Regions from separate parts of the Homo sapiens genome. Here regions 1, 2, 3, 4, 5 and 7 are each linked to region 6. The links are contacts of gene promoters, found by promoter capture Hi-C in blood cells and fetal thymus (Javierre and others, 2016). All regions are on one chromosome and are shown on one strand. The core of a region is centred on a gene start or on the middle of the fragment in contact, and the rest is flanking DNA. Distances in the headings are between cores, read along the strand shown.

Region 1 (2,800 bases), core at 170-2,669, 630 kb after region 6:
ACAAAAAAAAAGCCAGGCACGGTGGCATGGACCCTGAGACTGAGGTGGGAGGATGGCTTGAGCCAGGAAGGTCCAAGTAGTAAGTCATGATTGTGCCACTGCACTCCAGCCTAGTTGACAGAGTGAGACCCAGTCTCAAAAAAAAAAAAAAAAAAAAAAAAGAAGAAGAAGAAAGAAACAGTGCTTCTAAGGGCAGTACTGCGCATGCATTTATATTTATTTGCATATGTCAGCAGCTAGCTTTAAGTCATCTCATCACTGGAAACTCATACATTCATTCATTCAACACTTAATGAACTTCTGTTCCAGGCACCAGCAAACCCTAGAAATACAGTAGTGAACAAAACAAGGTGCTTGCTCTCATGGAGCTAACATAAATATTTGCATAGGATAATTACATTATGATAAGTGCTAAAATTGCTATAAGGTAGAAAGTACTTGCATTGGCCAATGCAAAGACTTTGGTATTTACTCTGAATAAGATGGGAAACTGCTGGAAGATGGGAAACTGGTGTCAGAAAAGGCCCTGTCAAAAGAGTTGAGGCATGAAGAATGAGACTAAGGCAGCTAGGTGGGGTGCTCAGGGGAAAGCAGCTGAAAGCTTCAAGGTAGGAAGGCTTGGTATGTAGAAAAGACATCAGTGAGCCTAGAGCATAGTCAGTCGGGGGAGGAGTGGTCAGAGATGAGGTTAGAGAGGTAGAGAATGTAGACAGCCTGTTTGAGAAGCTGAATCATAAAGCAGAACAGAGAAATGGAGGTAGAGCTCAGGGAGGATGTGGTATCAAAGGAGAATTCTTGTTTTCTGAGATGGAAGACAGTCCATTGTGGAAACAGAGAGATTGAGGGTGAAAAAGAAGCAATAACAGCAGAAGCAAAGGTAATGAGAAGAGGGAGAGGAAGGGCCCAGGAGAACAAGAGGAAGAGCTGGATTTGAGAGAGAAAAGGATTAATGGGAGGGCAGGCAAAGACAGTGGGTACAGGTACAAACAGACCAGTCAATATGGCAGTGAAACTAGTCATTGATTCATTTAGTAAATATTTATTGAGCACAGTGATGTGCCAGGCACTGTCCTTAGGCACTGGGGATGTGGCAGTAAACAAAATACACAAAATGTCTTGTTTTTATGGAGCTTGTTTTCTAGTGAGGGGCAACAAATAAATAATTATAGTAAACTAGGATGTTAGATACATGTGTGGGAAGAAATGAGGAAAGGAATATAAAGTGTCATGGGGGTGCAATTTTAAACGAGGAGATCAGTGAAGGCCTCATAGAGAAGGTGACACTAGATCAAAGGACTTACAGAGAAGAGGAATCTAGGTGTATTAGTGATGAAGAAAACAACAGGTGCTAATGCCTTAAGGCAGGAGCATGCCTGCCATGTCCAAAGAACAGCAAGGGGGCCAGTGTAGCAGCAATTAACTGCAAGAGAAAGAAAGGAGATATTCCAGGGAAGTTAGTGGCAGGAGAAGCATATCTTGGAGGGGCTTCTTGGCCAATGCAAAGACTTTGGTATTTACTCTGAATAAGATGGGAAACTGCCGGAAGGCAAGAAGCACAGTCGTGACATATGATCTGTTTGTAAAGCCACTGTGACTGCTCTATTGAGAAAATACTTTAGGGTGGCAAAGATGTAAGCGGGGAGCCTGGGTTAGGAGGCTGTTGTAATAATCCAGATGAGAGATAATGGTAGCTTTGATCAAAGTGAAAACAATGGAGACAACAAGATGTAAGATGTTTTGAAGGTAAAGGTTATAGTAGGTGCTTATAAATTAGACATGGCATTGAAAGAGAAGAAGCGTGGATGGGCTGGGCGTGGTGGCTCACGCCTGTAATCCCAGCACTTTGGGAGGCCGAGGTAGGTGGATCACCTGAGGTCAGGAGTTTGAAATCAGCCTGGTCAACATGTGAAAGCCCATCTACTAATAAGAAAAAATACAAAAATTAGCCAGATGTGGTGGCGGGCGCCTGTAATTCTAGCTACTTGGGAGGCTGAGGCACAAGAATCACTTGAACCCTGGAGGCGGAGGTTGCAGTGAGCTGAGATCACAGCATTGCACTCCAGCCTGGATGACAGAGTGAGACTTTGTCTAAAAAAAAAAAAGTGAGGATGTCTCTGAAGTTTTTGGCTTAAGCAGGTGGAAAGATCAAGTTGCCATTTACTGAGATGGGAAGAATGTAGGAGGACCTGGTTTTAGGGAGAATATTGGGAGTTGGACACTGGACATGTTAAGCTTGAGCTCATATGAGACACTGAAGTGAGGATGTTGACTAGGCAGTTAGAGGCATGAGTCTAGATTCCAAGGAAGTGGTCTAGATTGGAAATAAAAGTTTTGAAGTTGTCAGTGTATGGATGGCATATAAAGCTAGAGATTGGATGAGATCAACAAGAAAGAAAGTGTCTATAAAAAGAAGAGATCCCGGCTGGGTGCGTTGGCTCATGCCTGAAATCCCAGCATTTTGGGAGGCCGAGGCAGGCGGATCACCTAAGGTCAGGAGTTCAAGACCAGCCTGACCAACATGGAGAAATCCCATCTCTACTAAAAATACAAAATTAGCCAAGCGTGGTGGCGCCTGCCTATAATCCCAACTACTAGGGAGGCTGAGGCAGGAGAATTGCTTGAACTCGGGAGGCGGAGGTTGTAGTGAGCCAAGATCATGACATTGCACTCCAGCCTGGGCAACAAGAGTGAAACTCCGTCTCAAAAAAAAAAAAAAAAAAAAAAAAAGGAAAGATCCCAGAACCAAGCTCTACAGTGCCCCAGTGTTTATATGCCAAGCTCTACAGTGCCCCAGTGTTTA
Region 2 (2,875 bases), core at 31-2,530, 610 kb after region 6:
ATGTATTCCCACAGCTCTTTTCTCTTCTTTCCTATGTCCTGGAGATTAAATGCCACTACCTAATTTTCTCCTTCTTGGGCTCTGGGAAAAGAGAACTCAGGCTCAGGAATTTTGCCCCTGCTTTCCGGTCCTTTGGGAATTCAGCCCTTGCAAAGCTTTTCTAGAGATGTTTCTTGCTGTTAGAGACAGTTGGAACCTTTCTACAGACAAGCTCTTTCTTCCACTTGCCCTTTAGCTCTTGATGTTCAGAAGATCCTATAGGGAGGCTAGCAACCATGGACTGATGGGGATCTCAGGATAAATCAGATTTCAGAGGACCCAAGAATTTGCCTGAAATTACACATAGAACTTTCTGTTTGTATTTGTTTTTCTAGGTCAGTAGCCTTCGATAGAATATTAGAGAGGTCCCTAATCCAGTTGGAACCTGACTAGGACTGTGAGCAGGAGTCCTATTAATATCATGGTTATGCAGACCTCTTAAGTGGAAGAGGTCTTCCATTAACCATGATAATGTGAAGTCTGTAAATTACATAGAAGACTGGAATGCATAGACATTTCATATACCCAGTTCACTTTAGGATGGAGAAGCCAGTGTGGCTTCCCTGCTACTTGTGAGCTCCTGTGGCAATGAGGAGGTCTTACTCATCACTAATTAGTGCTTGCCACCTGCTAGGCACCCAGCAGGAGGCGTTGATGGAAGGAGAGGAGGAGGATTTGAGTAACAAGATTACCTGAGGTAGGGGTGGAAATGAGACTGAAATTAGGGACACATTCTAACTAATTTAGGTATGGACAGTTTGGGAATAGAGATTGCTGCTACTGCAAAGGTTTCCCTTTCCCTCCTTTCACCTTCTACCTCAGTAGCTCAGCCAAACTGCCCAAACCACTTGACTAGGACCAGGAGCTTCTTAAGCGCAGGCACCAGCTCATTCACCTTGGTAGCCCTACACTTGAGCTGTCAGCCTGGAATAGAGTTTAGTGACTCGAACTGAATCTAATGGTCCCCTGAGAGAGCTACTGCTAGCCATGTGGCACCTTGGTATTAATTAAAAGGAAGATAGCCCTGCCTCTGAGTGGTGTAGCCTTGAGGCAGGATAATAAGTTACGGTGAAGTCTCCGACTGTAGCACTAAGTTTGCTAGCACTGGAAGAATTACTAAATAAAGTTATATGCATACTTTAATGGCTTAGTGAGAAATCCTGGGCAGGAAACAGTCCATAGGCACCCAAAAGGGTCTTCTCCTGAGGGACATTTTATACATTAGGGATATATATGAGTACTGTCTCCATATTATTTAGTGTCCCTTTAAATAAATACTCATTCCCACTGTAGATGCGCTTAACATATGACAGTGAATAAAGGGATAACTCTGTAAGTACATTATTTACATTGATGTATTGTATATCAACCAATTATTTTTTTCTTTATTACAGAAGTGTTTGACATTTAACCCAGCCAAAAGAATATCTGCCTACAGTGCCCTGTCTCACCCATACTTCCAGGACCTGGAAAGGTGCAAAGAAAACCTGGATTCCCACCTGCCGCCCAGCCAGAACACCTCGGAGCTGAATACAGCCTGAGGCCTCAGCAGCCGCCTTAAGCTGATCCTGCGGAGAACACCCTTGGTGGCTTATGGGTCCCCCTCAGCAAGCCCTACAGAGCTGTGGAGGATTGCTATCTGGAGGCCTTCCAGCTGCTGTCTTCTGGACAGGCTCTGCTTCTCCAAGGAAACCGCCTAGTTTACTGTTTTGAAATCAATGCAAGAGTGATTGCAGCTTTATGTTCATTTGTTTGTTTGTTTGTCTGTTTGTTTCAAGAACCTGGAAAAATTCCAGAAGAAGAGAAGCTGCTGACCAATTGTGCTGCCATTTGATTTTTCTAACCTTGAATGCTGCCAGTGTGGAGTGGGTAATCCAGGCACAGCTGAGTTATGATGTAATCTCTCTGCAGCTGCCGGGCCTGATTTGGTACTTTTGAGTGTGTGTGTGCATGTGTGTGTGTGTGTGTGTGTGTGTGTGTGTGTATGTGAGAGATTCTGTGATCTTTTAAAGTGTTACTTTTTGTAAACGACAAGAATAATTCAATTTTAAAGACTCAAGGTGGTCAGTAAATAACAGGCATTTGTTCACTGAAGGTGATTCACCAAAATAGTCTTCTCAAATTAGAAAGTTAACCCCATGTCCTCAGCATTTCTTTTCTGGCCAAAAGCAGTAAATTTGCTAGCAGTAAAAGATGAAGTTTTATACACACAGCAAAAAGGAGAAAAAATTCTAGTATATTTTAAGAGATGTGCATGCATTCTATTTAGTCTTCAGAATGCTGAATTTACTTGTTGTAAGTCTATTTTAACCTTCTGTATGACATCATGCTTTATCATTTCTTTTGGAAAATAGCCTGTAAGCTTTTTATTACTTGCTATAGGTTTAGGGAGTGTACCTCAGATAGATTTTAAAAAAAAGAATAGAAAGCCTTTATTTCCTGGTTTGAAATTCCTTTCTTCCCTTTTTTTGTTGTTGTTATTGTTGTTTGTTGTTGTTATTTTGTTTTTGTTTTTAGGAATTTGTCAGAAACTCTTTCCTGTTTTGGTTTGGAGAGTAGTTCTCTCTAACTAGAGACAGGAGTGGCCTTGAAATTTTCCTCATCTATTACACTGTACTTTCTGCCACACACTGCCTTGTTGGCAAAGTATCCATCTTGTCTATCTCCCGGCACTTCTGAAATATATTGCTACCATTGTATAACTAATAACAGATTGCTTAAGCTGTTCCCATGCACCACCTGTTTGCTTGCTTTCAATGAACCTTTCATAAATTCGCAGTCTCAGCTTATGGTTTATGGCCTCGATTCTGCAAACCTAACAGGGTCACATATGTTC
Region 3 (2,840 bases), core at 215-2,714, 860 kb before region 6:
GCTTCTGATAGATAACTTGGTTGTTTTGTTATAAGGAGCTTTATTTCCTCAGGATGAATTATGAAGATTTTTCTTTTTGTTGTTTCAAAATAGGGCTGTCTTATCTGAGAATGTGTTAATTAAAGTTATCATGTATTACCTTGTTTCTAGTCCTACACATTTGATATGAACAAATTACTGTTTACAAGACAGCTTCCTGTACTTAGAATAGCAGCTGTTGTTACTCCACCAAGAAGAGCTGCCCAGAGGGGCTAGGGCATGAGGAATAGGTTTGGAGACAGGAAGAATAAAGGAATGTTCAGATCTAGCTCGAGGGCAGGCGGGACACTTGTGGTGGGATGGTTGGGTCCACTTCGCTTTCTGTTTTGCCTCCTAACCAATCTGATGTTATCTACTCACGGACCTCCATTTTCCTGGTGCACTCTTTTGGCTGGCCCTCCTGCTAAATCTCTTTGCTGGCTGAACCTTAGCCTTCCCTAGCCACAAGCCAATGAGAAAATCACTACCTCTATCTCACTAGGTTGGAGCGTAGCACTTTGGGAATGGAAGCAACAAGTCCTAACCTCACAGTCAGTCAGGCATTCAACTCAAATACATGATCATTTATTCAGGAGGCATCTGCTGTGTGCAATGGCTTTGGGACAGCACAGAGAGAGATGCAAAGATGGAAACACTGTCTCTACCCCAGTGTAGTTTAGGACCTGTCTTGGGAAGAAAGCAATTGTTTCCAATAACAGTAGTAAGAACAGCAAGAGAGATGCAGTGATGTAGAATGGGAAGGAGATTCAGAGCATTCTTGAGTGAGCTGCTAATTGGAGGGCTGAGGGGATTGTGACTTCATCCTTTGCATCCAGGTGCTGCTGGCGTGTCTGGTGCACAGTGGGTGCTCTGCAGTGTTTGCCAAGCCATTATTGAGAAGGGGTATCCAATGGTGTGCATACCCCTTCGAAAGGGCTTACTAGTCATGTGAGGTGCTACTAGAGAGACAAGTTAAGGTTTTGAATGAGAGATGAGAGTTGGAAGAATATTCTAGTGGAAAAAAAGAATATGAGAAACAGTTCAGAAACATGGAATCCCTGCTCAACTTCCTCTGCTCACTGCCCCCGGCCACTTCATCCAGGGATGTTGAGGACAGATTTCTCTACAGGTAATTGGAAGCAAGACTTACTTGGAGAAAATAGTTTCATTGGTCTCTTGTCTCTGACAGTACTCACAAAGCCTCCTTGCTTGTTTGCTTCCTTCCCTTAATCCCATTCTTTCATTCCGAACCTTTCTACGTCTCCCTTAAGTCCTATTTTCTTTTTCCCTTGTTCTGAGCTCCCATCACCATCTTTATCCCCTGTCAACCAAGGAGACAGGGCACAGGTGCAGTTACCAGGTCACCAAGCTAAACAAAGGGCTTTAGAGTTGGTCTTTTTTGTGACTGTCCTGCCTCCCTCTAGGTATTTATCTCTTTTCTGTGGGTAGCATAACAGAAGCTCAGAGAGTTGATGTGCCTGCAGCATGACATAAGTGGAAGTCACAAACATTCATTTTCCACTTCTTTATTTTGCCTTCTGAGTCATGGTGCCTCTGCATAATTTAAACCTTTTCTCTCCCCACTGCCTTAACCCCTGAAAATCTGCAACAAGTTCACATGCATCCTTAATTCTCCACTCTAGAATTTCAAATGGAAGTTTTAAACAATGTTTTGGCTTCTTGTGAAATCTGAGAATCCAGTGTATGTCCTTGGTCTTACAATAAAAGGCTGGTAAAAGTCCTTTTTTTTTTTTTAACTTCCTCTTTCTCTACTCTATTGTCCAGTTTTGGCTTTCCTATTTTCCCTCATCTTTGTAAAATTGCCTTCCAGATGTCTCTTCAAATGACTTGACAGCAGCCCTGTTATCTTCTAAGAGCCTAAAAGCACTTTGGCTGCTTTAGAAAAATGTGTTTGTTTTTTCTTCTTATTAGGCAGCATCTGAAGTCTCTCTGAAAACACAAGAAAAGAATATACAGAGAACCTCCCAGAAACTGCAAGTCCCATGGAAATTAAGGCCATTAGTGTTTTGTATAATAAACAGTCACCTTTGCATTTAAAATGGACTATTTTGTTTTGGATATAGGTGGAGTAGGATATAAATGTATACTTCCTTGCTTCTTAGTTTATCATAGGAATCTAAGAAAAGAACTAAGGATAAGAGAAAAGGAGGAAAAAAAGACAGCTCTGCTGCTTTTATCTCAGGTTATTTCAGAAAAAACAAAATGATAACCCTGCAAAATTCTCAGCACTCTTCACTTTGGTTCCACCGCTTTCAGTGGGTGACTTGTCTGGAAAGGAATCTCTTTTAGCCTTCCTGGCTAATGAGCCATGGCAGATAATGCCACAAGGTGTCACTATTGCTAAAATCGCTCTCCACCTACAGGATCGATTGCGGTTATGGTTATGTGAATGTGAATTAGATTTCACTTTTGTTTCTAAATAGGCTCCCTGGGAGAGGTACTTTTTGACTGGCAGTGTTCGCTGCCTCCTTCACTCCAAACAAACAAACTATGGCTTTGGCTAAATTATCTAGTGAAGCTCAGATTTCTAATATAGAATTGAGTAGGAGATAATTTCTGTCTTTCCGGGTAGAAAACCTTGGTATAGCTGAGTTTCAGATGCAGCACTTAGTAGGTACGCAACAAAAGTTAGCTCCCCTAACTTAAAAGCGAGGAATGGAGTTGGAAAGTGTGCATGGGGAAGAGGGTGGTAACTTTTTGAGGCCCCTTTCTTTCTTTTTCTTTTTTTTTAAATTGGATTTCAAAGCTGCAAAAATATCAAACACAGAGGTCTGGTTGTTGTTAACAGCTATGCCATAAAA
Region 4 (3,072 bases), core at 435-2,934, 650 kb after region 6:
GCCTGTCATGTACCAAAATTCCAGATTCCAGGGCTGGGCATGGTTGCTCATGCCTACAGTTTCAGCACTTCAGGAGGCCGAGGCAGGAGGATTGCTTGAGGCCAGGAGTTTGAGATCAGCCTGGGCAACGTAGCAAGATGCTGTCTCTACAAAAAATATTTATGTGTTTTTTTTTTTTTTTTTAATTAGCTGGATGTGGTAGTACATGCCTGTAGTCTTAGCTACTTGGGATACTGAGGCAGGAGGATTGCTTGAGGCCAGGAGTTGAAGATTACAGTGAACTATGATCATGCCACTACATTCTAGCTTGGGTGACAGAGCAAGGCCTTGTCTCTTTTTAAAAAAAATTCCAGCTTCCCAGAAGGAAAACAGGTATTTAGCTTGAACTACATTGTTTGTACAAACAGTTTTAGGAACAATGATCTGCTCTTATCAGAGAATAGTAAGAATCCTCCGAATTCAAGTTCCCAGATGCCCACCTAGGGCCAGTCTTTTAAGTATGTCTTTCCAAGATTAAGCAGTCAGGCGAGCTGTATTAACTCTTCTCTGCACAGCATGTTAGGTACCTTATTAAATGGGTCATATATGGAATGTAGTAGTTCAGTCAGATAGATTTCAGGGCATCCTAACACTGAAAACTACCAGGTTTATGACCTTAGGTGGATTTCTTACCTTCTCCAAGCTTCAGTTTCTTTATCTATAAAATGGGGATCCATACCTTTTCTCAGAGGGTCGTTGTGAGGATTAAATGAAAATGTATTTTAAATAGTGCCTGTTGTAAGTGCTTAGATGTTTGGTGTATTAGCTCTTATAATCCATATTTAGAAAAGGAGTGATTAGTGTTATTTATTTAGCTTTATTATGGTAATTTATTTTTATAAACGTGAACAAAGAAATTGAAATGTTACCAACATTGAATAGAAGTCTATTAGAATATTTAGAAGAGTTTATGAAATTTTGTTGTCTTATTTGTAAGCATTTATCTAATTTGAATTGCTTGAAATTTTGTTTGTACATTCTATTTTTTAAGGGAAGAAGTAAAAGAGCAACTAGAAAAGAAAAAGAAAGGCTCCAAGGCTTTGGCTGAATTTGAAGAAAAAATGAATGAGGTTTGTAAAAAGTACCTGTTAAAAAAATAGACTAATTTGGCCAGTTATGGTGGCTCATACCTATAATTCCAGCACTTTGGGAGGCCGAAACGGGAGGCCAGGAGTTCATGACCAGCCTGGGCAACAAAGTAAGGCCCCCCCCCGCCGCCCTTGTCTCCATTAAAAAAAAGAAAATACCTTAAGTATTTGGGCATAGCTCTCTCAGTTAAAGAGGTTCTGTATTTTAGAAGTGTTATTGTTATGGTGAATACAAGTTTGTATTTACGTGCATGCTTTAAAAAATGAAGAAGAATCATCTTGTAATGTAAGTCATCTAAGACTTAGATAACTTGGATTCCAAGTTAGGGTTGAGCAGTCCTCCTACTTCAGCCTCCTGAGCAGCTGGGACCACAGTTGCAGGCCACTATGCCCAGCTAATTTTTTTTTTATCTTTAGTAGAGACAGGTTCTCACTATGTTGCCCAGGCTGGTCTCCAACTTCTGAGCTCAAGCGATCTTCCCACCTTAGCCTCCCAAAGTACTGTGATTACAGGTGTGAGCCATTATACCCAGCCTGTTTGCTTGTTTTGATTACAAACATGTATATAACATATCAATCACAGTAATGATTAATTCAACTTTTACAGCCTAGACGGAGAATCTAGCCATCTTTGTTGAAAAGAGACCTCAGCTTCAGTAATAATGCCTGCTGCTCAATAATACAGAACCCCTATCCCTTAATATGCTCTTTGAAAAGAGCTAGTAGAGGGTCCTTTGGTGATAGGGTCAAGGATTGGCACCTGTGTTTCTTTTGACTGTAATTAGAAGCTGAAATGGGTGAGAGGTATTAAGAGGATGGAGGGAAGGAAGCAGTGGCTGTCTCTGTATATTAGGTGTATTGGAAAGGTTAGATAGTCTCTGATGGTGTTCATAACCTTTTTGCAGAACTGGAAGAAAGAACTGGAAAAACACAGGGAGAAATTGTTAAGTGGAAGTGAGAGCTCATCCAAAAAAAGACAGGTAATACCACTTTTAGTTTATTGCTATTCTTAATCTCATAGTTGGATTTTCATAATAATGCTGTATACTACTGTTAATAGATGCATTTGCAAACTCACATCAGCTTATTTAGACTTGTACTTTTGTTTCCATTTAGAGAAAGAAAAAAGAAAAGAAGAAATCTGGTAGGGTGAGCAAAAATTTTCCATTTTTCTAAACGTTACAATTAAGAGCCAACAAAAAAAGTAAGAATAATTTGTTTAACCTGTATGCTAAAGGTAGCTTAAACTCCAGATGAGTCAAGGAACTTAGAGGTTCTTTGATTGTGAAGAGTGATTTTGTTCTATCACTGACATAAAAAACGGTGCCAACCACCTTATAACGTAGTACATTTTCTGTTGCTATTTAAAGAGAAAGATTGGTGACCATGGCCACATATGTTAACTTGTTGAGCTTTTGTACAGGGAACAAGTGTGACATTTTATATTTTCATATTTATGACTTATGAATATGGCATCTGTTTCTCAGACACTAGATTGATTTCACTAAGTATTTGAGAGACTTTGTAAAAGAAAAACATTCTCGCATCTCACAAGCTTTAATTGTTTTGTGCTTGGTCAAGTATTCATCTTCTTCTTCATCAAGCTCTGATTCTTCCAGCAGTTCTTCTGATTCTGAAGATGAGGTAAGGTTTGCTTATAATGGTTCATGAAATAATATCTCTTAATTTCTTTAATGTCAAGTGGAAACCCATTGTGAAATATCTGTTAGAAATGTTGACTTCCAGGTTTTGATTAATTATCCATAACTTAGAGGACTAACATGAGTGAGTGGTAACTAGGAACTTAAATATTGGTATATAATATATTTTTTAGATTTTAAAATTTGTTTTGTTGACCTAAAAATATCAGTAGAAGAAAATATTTGAAAAATCAAATGCTATTTGACTAGATGCTAGGCATTACATGTGATTCAAATCACTTGAT
Region 5 (3,019 bases), core at 82-2,581, 590 kb after region 6:
TAATTATTTATTCCTGTACATGCTGTTTTTTATCAAATGCTGTTTCATTTCTTATGAGTGACATAAAGCCTTTGCCGGTGATATTTTTCTCTTATAGTTATAAAATCAAAAATATGACAGAGAGTTGTACCTCTCTAGAGAATGTATAATGCAAATGGATCTTATATATAATCATATCCCCTCAGCCTTCTCATTCTTGTAAGTTCATTTGCTTCATAAATAAACTAAATAGTTTGTACTGAAACCAGAAGTTGACCTTAATATTTGTGTTGGCTGGGCACAGTGGTGCACGCCTGTAATCCCAGCACTTTGCGAGGCTAAGGCAGCAGATCGCTTGAGCTCAGGAGTTCGAAACCAGCCTGAGCAACATGGCAAAACCCTGTCTCTACAAAACAAAAAATACAAAAATTAGCCTGGTGTGGTGGCATGCCCCTGTGGTCCCAGCTACTCAGGAGGCTGAGGTGGGTGAATGATTGACCCAGAAAATGGAGGCTTCAGCAAGCTGAGATCACTTCACTGCACCCCAGCCTGGGCAACAGAATGAGATCTTGTCTCAAAAAATAATAATAATAACAAATTTAAAAATATTTCTTATAACTTTTTTTTAAATGTGCTACGGATAGATTGCATTTAAATACTTGATAAAATAGTATTGTTTAGAAATCATGATTAGCAAAACTGATTACAGCTCCTGCTCTTATCACGTCCCTGACTATGTCTAAGTTACAGAATCTTCTCAGCCATAGTCCTCACCTAAATAAGGAAACGCATTTATCCCCTTATTTGTCATTTTCCTAACTTCATCATCTATAAAGTTTTCTTAGTGATCTTTTTAAATAGCACAGCACGGTATCATGGGTAAATTAAATCTAGAGATTTGGGCCAAAGATAGGACCAAAATAACAGCATTGAATTTTCCTTGCATATTTAGTCATAATGAAACAAGGAAAAGAAACCACAGGACAGAGAAAAAGGAGAAGGAAATACAGTATTAAGCAAAAATAAATAACTTTGGAACGAGTAACAGTTCATTCTATTTGTTCTTGATTGGTAGCCTTACTTTTACTGAGCAGGTTAATTTTATTTCTCAGCAGTTTTAACTGCTTCATTCACATGGTTTATTATTTTGTGTTATTTTCTTCCATGATATGGAGTACGACAGAAGCTGTGATATCTGTTTTTTAGCAGATGAGCAGAGATTAAGTGGCCTGCCTGCACTCTGGGATTTATTTGTTAATCAGTTACAGAGCCAGCACTAAGAGCTGGATCTTCTGTCTCCTGGTCTATACTCCTTTCCATAACATGTGGTAAAGTGCTTCTCCCTTGTTCTGAAGAAATCCCTACAGGGAACCTAACACTGCCCTGATCTGGAAACAACATTGTTACCTGACAGGCCGGTTTGCCAGGGTGACCATTCTTAAGTGTTTTAGGGAGCTAGGATTAATCTTTTTTTCCCAAGAGGAAGTAGCAATAAACTGTGCACCAAAAATAACGCTTTAGCTGCTAAATTCTGCTTAGTAGGTGGTTTCCCAAAGATGATCCAATGCAATGAGTCATCCCTCTGAGCACTTACTGCACATTATTTCTTTTTACTAATCCTCGGTGCTTTTGGTTGCATGTTTTTTAACCTTTAGAGCCCTCCTGGGAGGTTCAGAGTCTTCTCACTATGAATATAAAACAGACTCTACTACATCCCCCCACATGTCCCTCTTGTCCTTTACTTCCTATACTTTTCAAATCTAAGATAATCCATCACTTAGGAGAACAGTCAGGATCATGTCCAAAGATAAAAGATCAGCAGTAAGTTTCTCCAGAGTTAGCAGCAGCTCCATCTCATTCCCAGTATAAAAATCAAAAATGTAGATGGATGTAAGTCAATGTGTAGAACCCATATCAAGAAAACTATAAAACTTGATTGAGATACATAAAAATGACTTTCCTAGATATAGAGAATATTTGATTATTAGAAAGATATTAAATATTCCATTTTCCTGAACAGGAAGATTGAATAGTTGTAAGGATATAAAAGGTTTCCAAATTAATTCATAGGTTTATGCAACTCCAGTCAGAATTCCAGTGGGATTTCCTGAAATGCATTTGGAAGAGTTAAACTGGTGAAAATAGCCAAGAATTTTTTGTTACCAAAAAAAAAAAGTTATGAAGAGAAACTCCTGCTACCAAGCACTAAAATACATTATGCAACTACAGTAATAAAAATAATGTGGTACCAGCAGAAGTGACAGACATTAATGGAACAGAATAGAGAATGAGACTTGAAACCCTAATTTAGGAAGTGATGCAATTTATCATAAATCACAAATCTGGGAGGACAGAACGGCATATGCAACAAATGAGAATAGGGTAATTGGTCAATTTCATGGGGGAAAAATGGTAACCTGATTAGATTCTCACTATTCCTCACCACAGAGCAAATGACAGATGGCTTAAAGAGTTACATATTAAAAGTGAAGCCATAAAAGAATAAAGAAACTATAGGAAGTATCTGTGACCCTAGAATGGAGATATATTTTCAAAGCATTAAGAAGTCACAAACAAAAATACTAATATATTTGATTATATAAAAATTGAAAACTTTTGTTCATCAGAAAATAAAAACACTGCCAAGTTAAAAAGCATGTGATAATCTTGGAGAAAATGAATGAATATGACAAAGGTGTAATATCCTTAATGAATAAAAGAGCTCTTAAAATTAATTGGAAAGCCACTAGCACACCCCACTGTAGCTACACTACATTCCTATCACACTGTGTACATATCACAGTGCTAAATCATTTTATACTCATAATACAGTTCAGATGACACAAGACAGTATTAGAAATTCAGATCTTATTTTCCATTCACATATTCTTTGTCCAAAGGCAGTTTAAGGAAACTAACACATTACATTATGCTATAAATACTTCAGAACAGTTTGTCCACATTGACACTTCCATTTCCTAAAATGAAACCCTCGCTGGCCCACAGAGGGAAAAAAAAAAAAAAAAGGCTAGCTTTGTTA
Region 6 (2,733 bases), core at 179-2,678:
AACAAAAATACCAGTTAAGCATTATGCTACGTGCCCAACATCCATGAATGAATAAGATTATTCTCTGTATTCGAGAGCTCAGAGGGAAAATAAACATCCAATAAAATAAAGATTAAGGAGATAAGTGCTGCAATAGATGTGTGTACCAGATTTAGAGACAGTGCAGAGAAAGTTGTGGCATTGTTATTATTTTGCAGGGAGGTGGGGGAAGCATGAGGAGCTCTTGCCATTTTTCTGAAGCATGGAGGGATCTGAAAGTGACTGATCTCTGAAGAGGACTTCGTTTTCCCAATAGTCACTTACTTTCTTTGCTTATAGAAGTCCTTCTAGAAGAGTTCAGAGCCCTAATGCAAAGAGTGTTTCCAAACTTGGATTCCAAAGTTACTATCATTCCTTTTTTACTTTAATTATGCTTGAGGTATAGTCTTCCTTCCCCTCTTATCATTGAACTTCTTCAGTGGGCCTTTACTGTTAAAACTGATGCATGCAAGGAATTTTCCTTGATTTGATGATTTGATGCAGATTTGGATATATCCTTAACATTTTATATAACAAGGCTAGAACCAGAGCCTTCTTGCAAATAGGGGTTAACTAATAACTTAGTAAATTAAGCGGACATGCTTAGACTATCTGCTGCCATGACAATGGAGAGACCAGGTTGAAAACCTGTAACCTGGACACTGCAGTAGAGGTAAGATCTTTTCTAGATCATTGGTTCACTTCCTCTATGCATCAGCTGTGAAAATGTGGCCTCAGATACTATCTCCTGGCATGCACTTTTCATTATAATTATGCATGGTCCATGCCTCAGTCCCAGTTGGAAACACACCTGTGATTTGCTTTTAAAAATAAGATGAATTCAAAGATTAAATGAAATCAGTCATTGTAATAGGAAACACTGCATAGAAAAAATACGTTTTAAATATATTCTGGATCTCTCTTTTGATTCATTGGTAGAATTTTTACATGTTAGTGACTTCATGAAGATTTATAACTGTTTAGCAGATACATGAGCTACTTCAATTTTCATATAATTTTTTTTAATTTTAAAATAATAATGGCATAGTTCTGCATGATAGAAAACCAGCTTTTGTTTTTAAGGAAATCTCACAATATTCTTTCATTATGAAAACATGCCATTTTTCAGTAAAGTCACGCAAAAGGATGTTTTCCTTCATGTGATTTTTTAATAACTAAGTATAATTTATGAAATATATAGACAATTACTGGTAGTTGCTAAGAAACTCTTCTGAAAGCCATAAGCCTGTATTCTTGCTAAGCACATAACAGGTGTTCCCACTCCCTGTGTCCTTTGTATACACATTCATTCTGTATTCAAATCACAGAAGCAAGAGGCAAGATAGGGTCTGTTACCTCACTGCTAATTTCCCTAGCAAATAAACCAGCAGCTGCTGGTCCAAGTTACCACTGAGAACAGGGCACTGCATGCATGGGACAGGATGCTTTCATGGAGCCCTTCGGTGACACACTTGGGGTCTTTCAGTGCAAAATATACCTCCTTCTCTTCGGTAAGGCCCTGTGTGAATTGTGTTTTAGCTGTTTGTTAGGTTTTTTTTTTTTAATTGTGGACATAAGGTAAATATTTGCTTTAGGCTGTAGATGCATTCAGATAATTGAAGAGCAGGTCAGAACCTTTTAACAATAACACACTGTTACAGCAAAGAAGCAGGAACATTTAAGAGAAATGAGTTTCAATAAATAGATTGTTATTGTTTTCTTGGAACAACAATTATTGTCATAGCACTCATTAAGATAATTCAGATATTTTTAAAAGATAATGAATTTCTTCTTTTAGAGTTTACATATAGGTTCAATAGTCTTTAATGCATTTATTTCAGCAAATATTCTAATAGGCCATGAAATTGTGACCACTTAGAGTGAAACTACAAATAATTTACGAAAATTGTTTTCTTTTTAATTAAAGATATTGTTGCAAACTGTTTACTGCTTCGTTTTAAGTTATCTGTCTCATCTTATGAAATATGGAAGAAAGGTAAGATTCCAAACTAACAAAAAAATTTCCTACACAAAAGGGAGAACGTATTTGAAAAGATTGTTACTCCAAAATGCCTTTAGCTTTTCTCTTTGCCCAATGGCTAGTCCTATTAAGAATTTTTTTCTACCTTAATATTTTCCCTCATTCTCCTCTTTATCTTTTGAGTTTAAAGGAGTCTCTTTCCAGCATTCCAACTGCTGTCTGTCAACATTATTTTCACCAGATGTTCTCATTTCCATTCTTCCTATTTATCAGTTTTAAAAGTCAAATCAATTTCTTGTTTTGTTTATATTCAACAGATAGGAGTTCAATTAAGGCTACATTTTTTAAAAATTAAGAACAGCTTAGCAAAATAAGCAATTTAACTTTTAGGCTTCTTCAGCTATTTAGAGCTTTACTTTCACTCCTATATTTTGTTAAAGTTTGCATTGTAAATGTTATTATTCAAATTCATACCTACTGTTGTACCTATCTCACACATTTGAAATGTACAGTTTGTAAATTTTTTTAAGTCTTTGAGTTTCCCAGAGTTGTGATTGTTCCAGTTATCACAGTATTTATGTTATCAAATTTAAGCCTATAATAGATTTTTGTTTTCTAAAATTTTTTGAAAAAGTAAATAATTATTATAACTGTCACTACCTTTGTGCATTTGTCTTCCTTTTGAAAGTATCCTGGGTCATCATCCCACTTATTTTTATATTTAAAACAGTAGG
Region 7 (2,909 bases), core at 235-2,734, 980 kb after region 6:
CAACAAAGCAAAAGCTTGTAACAAAGCAAAACCTTCCAATACACAGATTTTTACACCTTACACATACCCACATACTTCACAAATTAAGAACTAGATGAAAATTAGAACACTAAAATTTAAAGGTATCTAAAATACACTATTTGAAACAGCAGACTCTTATCTTTACATTTATCTGTCAGATCTACCAGTAAAGCTCTTCTGAAATGGTCATTCCAATACAAGATTGTTCGATATGCCATTCCGTGTGAATAGAGCTTGGGAGACTAATTCTCAAAATCTCCTCAGGAGATGCTTTATTACAGCTCTAGTTTCAATTTCCTGCGACTCAAACAGCTACGTACAGAAAAACAGCTCATACATACGGAGAAGAATAAGAATACAGGGGAGCGCTCCATTCTTTTGTTTTGGTGGCAGAAGCTGCAAAAATAAAGGTTCACTGGAGCCATCTGCACCTATCCCCACCCATCACAGCCCTGCAGAGCACTTTTACCCATCCGCTTCTCAAGACTCTCTCTAGCCCCCGAGGTCGGCAGAACCCGTGGCTTTCCACGTCTCAAAGGATGGGGGTGGGGGGGAGGCTGCGAGGAAGGACACAGATCCTTTGAGGACAGAGGGACAAGGAGATGCATCCAGATGGGGAGGATGGGACGCGTCACGGAGACCCGGAGGCTTGCAAATTCGCTGGGAGAAAAGCCCTGTAGGGCAGAGAATGCTGCCTGTTCAGGGATGGGGACAGACAGAACAACAATGCTCCAAAACAGGCGACAGACACACTCCTAGTAGATCCGGGAGGGTGTGAAGTAGGTAGCTCTGAACTCGGAGCCACAAATGGGTAGAGGCAGCCTCAAACACATCTGTACCGCGAAGCTGAGACTTACGGTTACTTCTCTCGCTGAGGGTAAGGGTCGGTGGACCCAGCAACTCCGCAGTTCCGCCTCCGCCGCCCCTGCCTCTACAGCCGAGCTGGTGACCTCAGGTACCCAGCCCGCCCCACCCACCCGGACGGTTGCCCCTTCCTCGCCGGCCCGGGTGCACCCGCCAGGCGGAGGCTGATGTGGCCGAGGGTGCGCACTGGCGGCCCGCGGGAAGCGCTGCGTGAGCCGAAGGCGCCCGCGGCGAGGCTCAGACTGGGTGGGCGCCCCCCATCCCTCTCCGGCCGCTGCGCCGCCTCACTCGGGGGAGGGGAAGAGGGGGCGGTGGCTCTTGCCTCCGCCTCGCGGTCAAGCCCGGCTCATGTTCCAGCCTTGCGCGCTCGCAGCCCCGGCCGCCCTCTTCCCCTCCCCCGCCTCCGGCTCCGGCTCCGGCTCAGCCGCTGGCACCCCCACCGCCACCACCCTAGTCTCCTAGTCGCCTGCCACCAGCCCCTGAGAGACTGCAGGTCCAGTGAAAAGGAGCAGGAACGGCAGCAGCCCGGCCGCCGACCCGGAAGCTCTTTCACCGCCAACCGCGAGGCTGCAAAGGGTGTGAACCCGGAAGCGATTTCATAGCCACGGTAACGGCGGGGTGGAAAGCTAAGGCCTTTGAAGACCTGGGACCCCGTAGTTTCGGGAGAGGGTGAGGGGTGAATGGTGCTGAGGTGCGAGGAGAGGGAAGGACAGTAAAGAGCAGGTGGGCAGGAGGGTCTCCGACTCCAGAGACCTGAGCTTTTGGGGCGCGGGTGGGAGCGCGGGGGAACCCTCAAGACGGCTTTCTTTTGGCGACTGAGGGTTTTTCTGCCACAGGAAGCTGGGCCGGGCTGCTGTGCCTGGGAGGAGGGAAGGAGGAATGAGAAAGCGGTGACGGTCCCTGCCCCCCCTCGCCAGGTGACTGTCCCACCCATTTAGTTGAATGTAGCGGCCAGAGAGGCACTCGCGGCAGCCCGTACGGGTGGGACCTCTCGGTGTCCTTCGGGAAACAGGAGGAGCAAGTTCGACTCCAGCGAGGGAAAACGGAGGTGGGAGACTGAACCATCTCCACATCTAGTTGCCCCAGGCAAGGAGTTTATTTTTCACATGTAGTTACAGAGAAACCATAGCCACTTTTTGGGTGGAAACTCTTTGAGCAAAGAGGCTTACGTTTTTCCCCAGTAGTGGACGTTGACGGGTGGTGGCGCAGGAAAAAACCTCCCAGGCAGAGTGATTACGTATTTTTGTCATTGCAGGGAAAGGGATTCACAGCTTGTCATTCTAACTCACTTCTCCCCCTGTAACTCACTTCTCGCCTCTACACTTTTCTCCACCTTTTAAGGTTTTTGGCTTTCATCGCTTTTTCTACATGTTTTTAGCCTCACCAGAAGTCTTTCATCTCGGTGGTCCAACTCAGGATCTCAGCCTCATTATTTTCTTACCCTTCTGGAGTGCATATGTGCCTTTACAGTTTCTGTTTGCAAACGCTGTCTAGCATACTAAGAGGATGTTAGCAAACCTGTTCCATGGACACTAAATGGCAGTTGTACATCTCCCCTCATCAGTCATAGTGACAACCAGAAATGCCCTCCATATTTTCCAGTGATCCCAGGTAGGTGCCACCCCCCTAATTAAGGACCACTTCCACTGCTTTATTTATAAGATCTTATTACTTAGGGAGCATATTATCATTTGTGCCTAACATTTTCCAGAATGGAGTGAGCCATATAACAAAATGCCACGTTTCCTGTACTTATTCACTTGAACCCTCATCTCAGACTCAGTCTAAACATATTGCAAACTCTAGTTATACCTTTCTTGTATTTTAGTTCAAGCTACTCATTTTCTATCAGTTTGTCTGTGTTTCTCCCTTAGCAGTTTTACCTTCCTATGTTAGTTACTTTTGTTATTTTCCTGTTAAGCCTTTGTTTCCTTCTTTCATGTCACTGGAAGAATGTAGATTTTAAGTAGTCAAGTACGAATAGTTCTTGAAAATGAATTTTAAGAATATTTTGGGGATATGGT

The links. Contacts are between HindIII fragments. The CHiCAGO score rates a contact against its expected background, and 5 or more counts as called.
Region 1: a fragment that was not itself captured here is called in contact with the fragment with the promoter of HEPACAM2 in region 6 in 2 of 17 cell types (neutrophils and non-activated CD4 T cells); the score reaches 7.0 in neutrophils.
Region 2: a contact is called between a fragment that was not itself captured here and the fragment with the promoter of HEPACAM2 in region 6, in 6 of 17 cell types (fetal thymus, naive CD8 T cells, monocytes and 3 more). The highest score is 8.6, in fetal thymus.
Region 3: a contact is called between a fragment that was not itself captured here and the fragment with the promoter of HEPACAM2 in region 6, in 1 of 17 cell types (total CD8 T cells). The highest score is 5.5, in total CD8 T cells.
Region 4: a fragment that was not itself captured here is called in contact with the fragment with the promoter of HEPACAM2 in region 6 in 2 of 17 cell types (non-activated CD4 T cells and total CD4 T cells); the score reaches 5.3 in non-activated CD4 T cells.
Region 5: a fragment that was not itself captured here is called in contact with the fragment with the promoter of HEPACAM2 in region 6 in 1 of 17 cell types (monocytes); the score reaches 7.4 in monocytes.
Region 7: a contact is called between the fragment with the promoter of KRIT1 here and the fragment with the promoter of HEPACAM2 in region 6, in 5 of 17 cell types (fetal thymus, naive CD4 T cells, activated CD4 T cells and 2 more). The highest score is 8.5, in fetal thymus.

What each region holds. Positions count from the first base shown.
Region 1 is chr7:92,596,723-92,599,522 of GRCh38, reverse strand. All of the region lies in intron 1 of LOC105375397 (a long non-coding RNA gene), which reads left to right. Among named protein-coding and RNA genes, the nearest start is that of FAM133B, 7.7 kb to the right of the region's middle. RefSeq lists a silencer at 630-679. The HindIII fragment of the contact is 1,631 bases long and covers 604-2,234 here.
Region 2 is chr7:92,613,845-92,616,719 of GRCh38, reverse strand. It overlaps CDK6 (cyclin dependent kinase 6), which reads left to right. Exons shown (of 8, transcript NM_001145306.2): 8 at 1,434-2,875. The coding sequence ends at 1,580. Among named protein-coding and RNA genes, the nearest start is that of FAM133B, 25 kb to the right of the region's middle. The HindIII fragment of the contact is 2,246 bases long and covers 158-2,403 here.
Region 3 is chr7:94,087,476-94,090,315 of GRCh38, reverse strand. LOC124901812 (a long non-coding RNA gene) reads left to right here and starts at 515. Exons shown (of 2, transcript XR_007060642.1): 1 at 515-1,147; 2 at 1,951-2,078. The HindIII fragment of the contact is 6,381 bases long and covers 1-2,840 here.
Region 4 is chr7:92,577,354-92,580,425 of GRCh38, reverse strand. FAM133B (family with sequence similarity 133 member B) reads left to right here. Exons shown (of 11, transcript NM_152789.4): 3 at 1,031-1,109; 4 at 2,033-2,107; 5 at 2,244-2,276; 6 at 2,709-2,771. Among named protein-coding and RNA genes, the nearest start is that of FAM133B, 12 kb to the left of the region's middle. The HindIII fragment of the contact is 2,000 bases long and covers 685-2,684 here.
Region 5 is chr7:92,633,611-92,636,629 of GRCh38, reverse strand. All of the region lies in intron 5 of CDK6 (cyclin dependent kinase 6), which reads left to right. Among named protein-coding and RNA genes, the nearest start is that of FAM133B, 45 kb to the right of the region's middle. The HindIII fragment of the contact is 5,319 bases long and covers 1-3,019 here.
Region 6 is chr7:93,225,164-93,227,896 of GRCh38, reverse strand. It overlaps HEPACAM2 (HEPACAM family member 2), which reads left to right and starts at 1,428. Exons shown (of 10, transcript NM_001039372.4): 1 at 1,428-1,529. The coding sequence starts at 1,451. The HindIII fragment of the contact is 7,149 bases long and covers 1-2,733 here.
Region 7 is chr7:92,244,489-92,247,397 of GRCh38, reverse strand. It overlaps KRIT1 (KRIT1 ankyrin repeat containing), which reads left to right and starts at 1,484. Exons shown (of 19, transcript NM_194454.3): 1 at 1,484-1,608; 2 at 2,227-2,496. It overlaps ANKIB1 (ankyrin repeat and IBR domain containing 1), which reads right to left and starts at 1,424. Exons shown (of 20, transcript NM_019004.2): 1 at 879-1,424. RefSeq lists a silencer at 989-1,378 and an enhancer at 1,309-1,603. The HindIII fragment of the contact is 4,029 bases long and covers 17-2,909 here.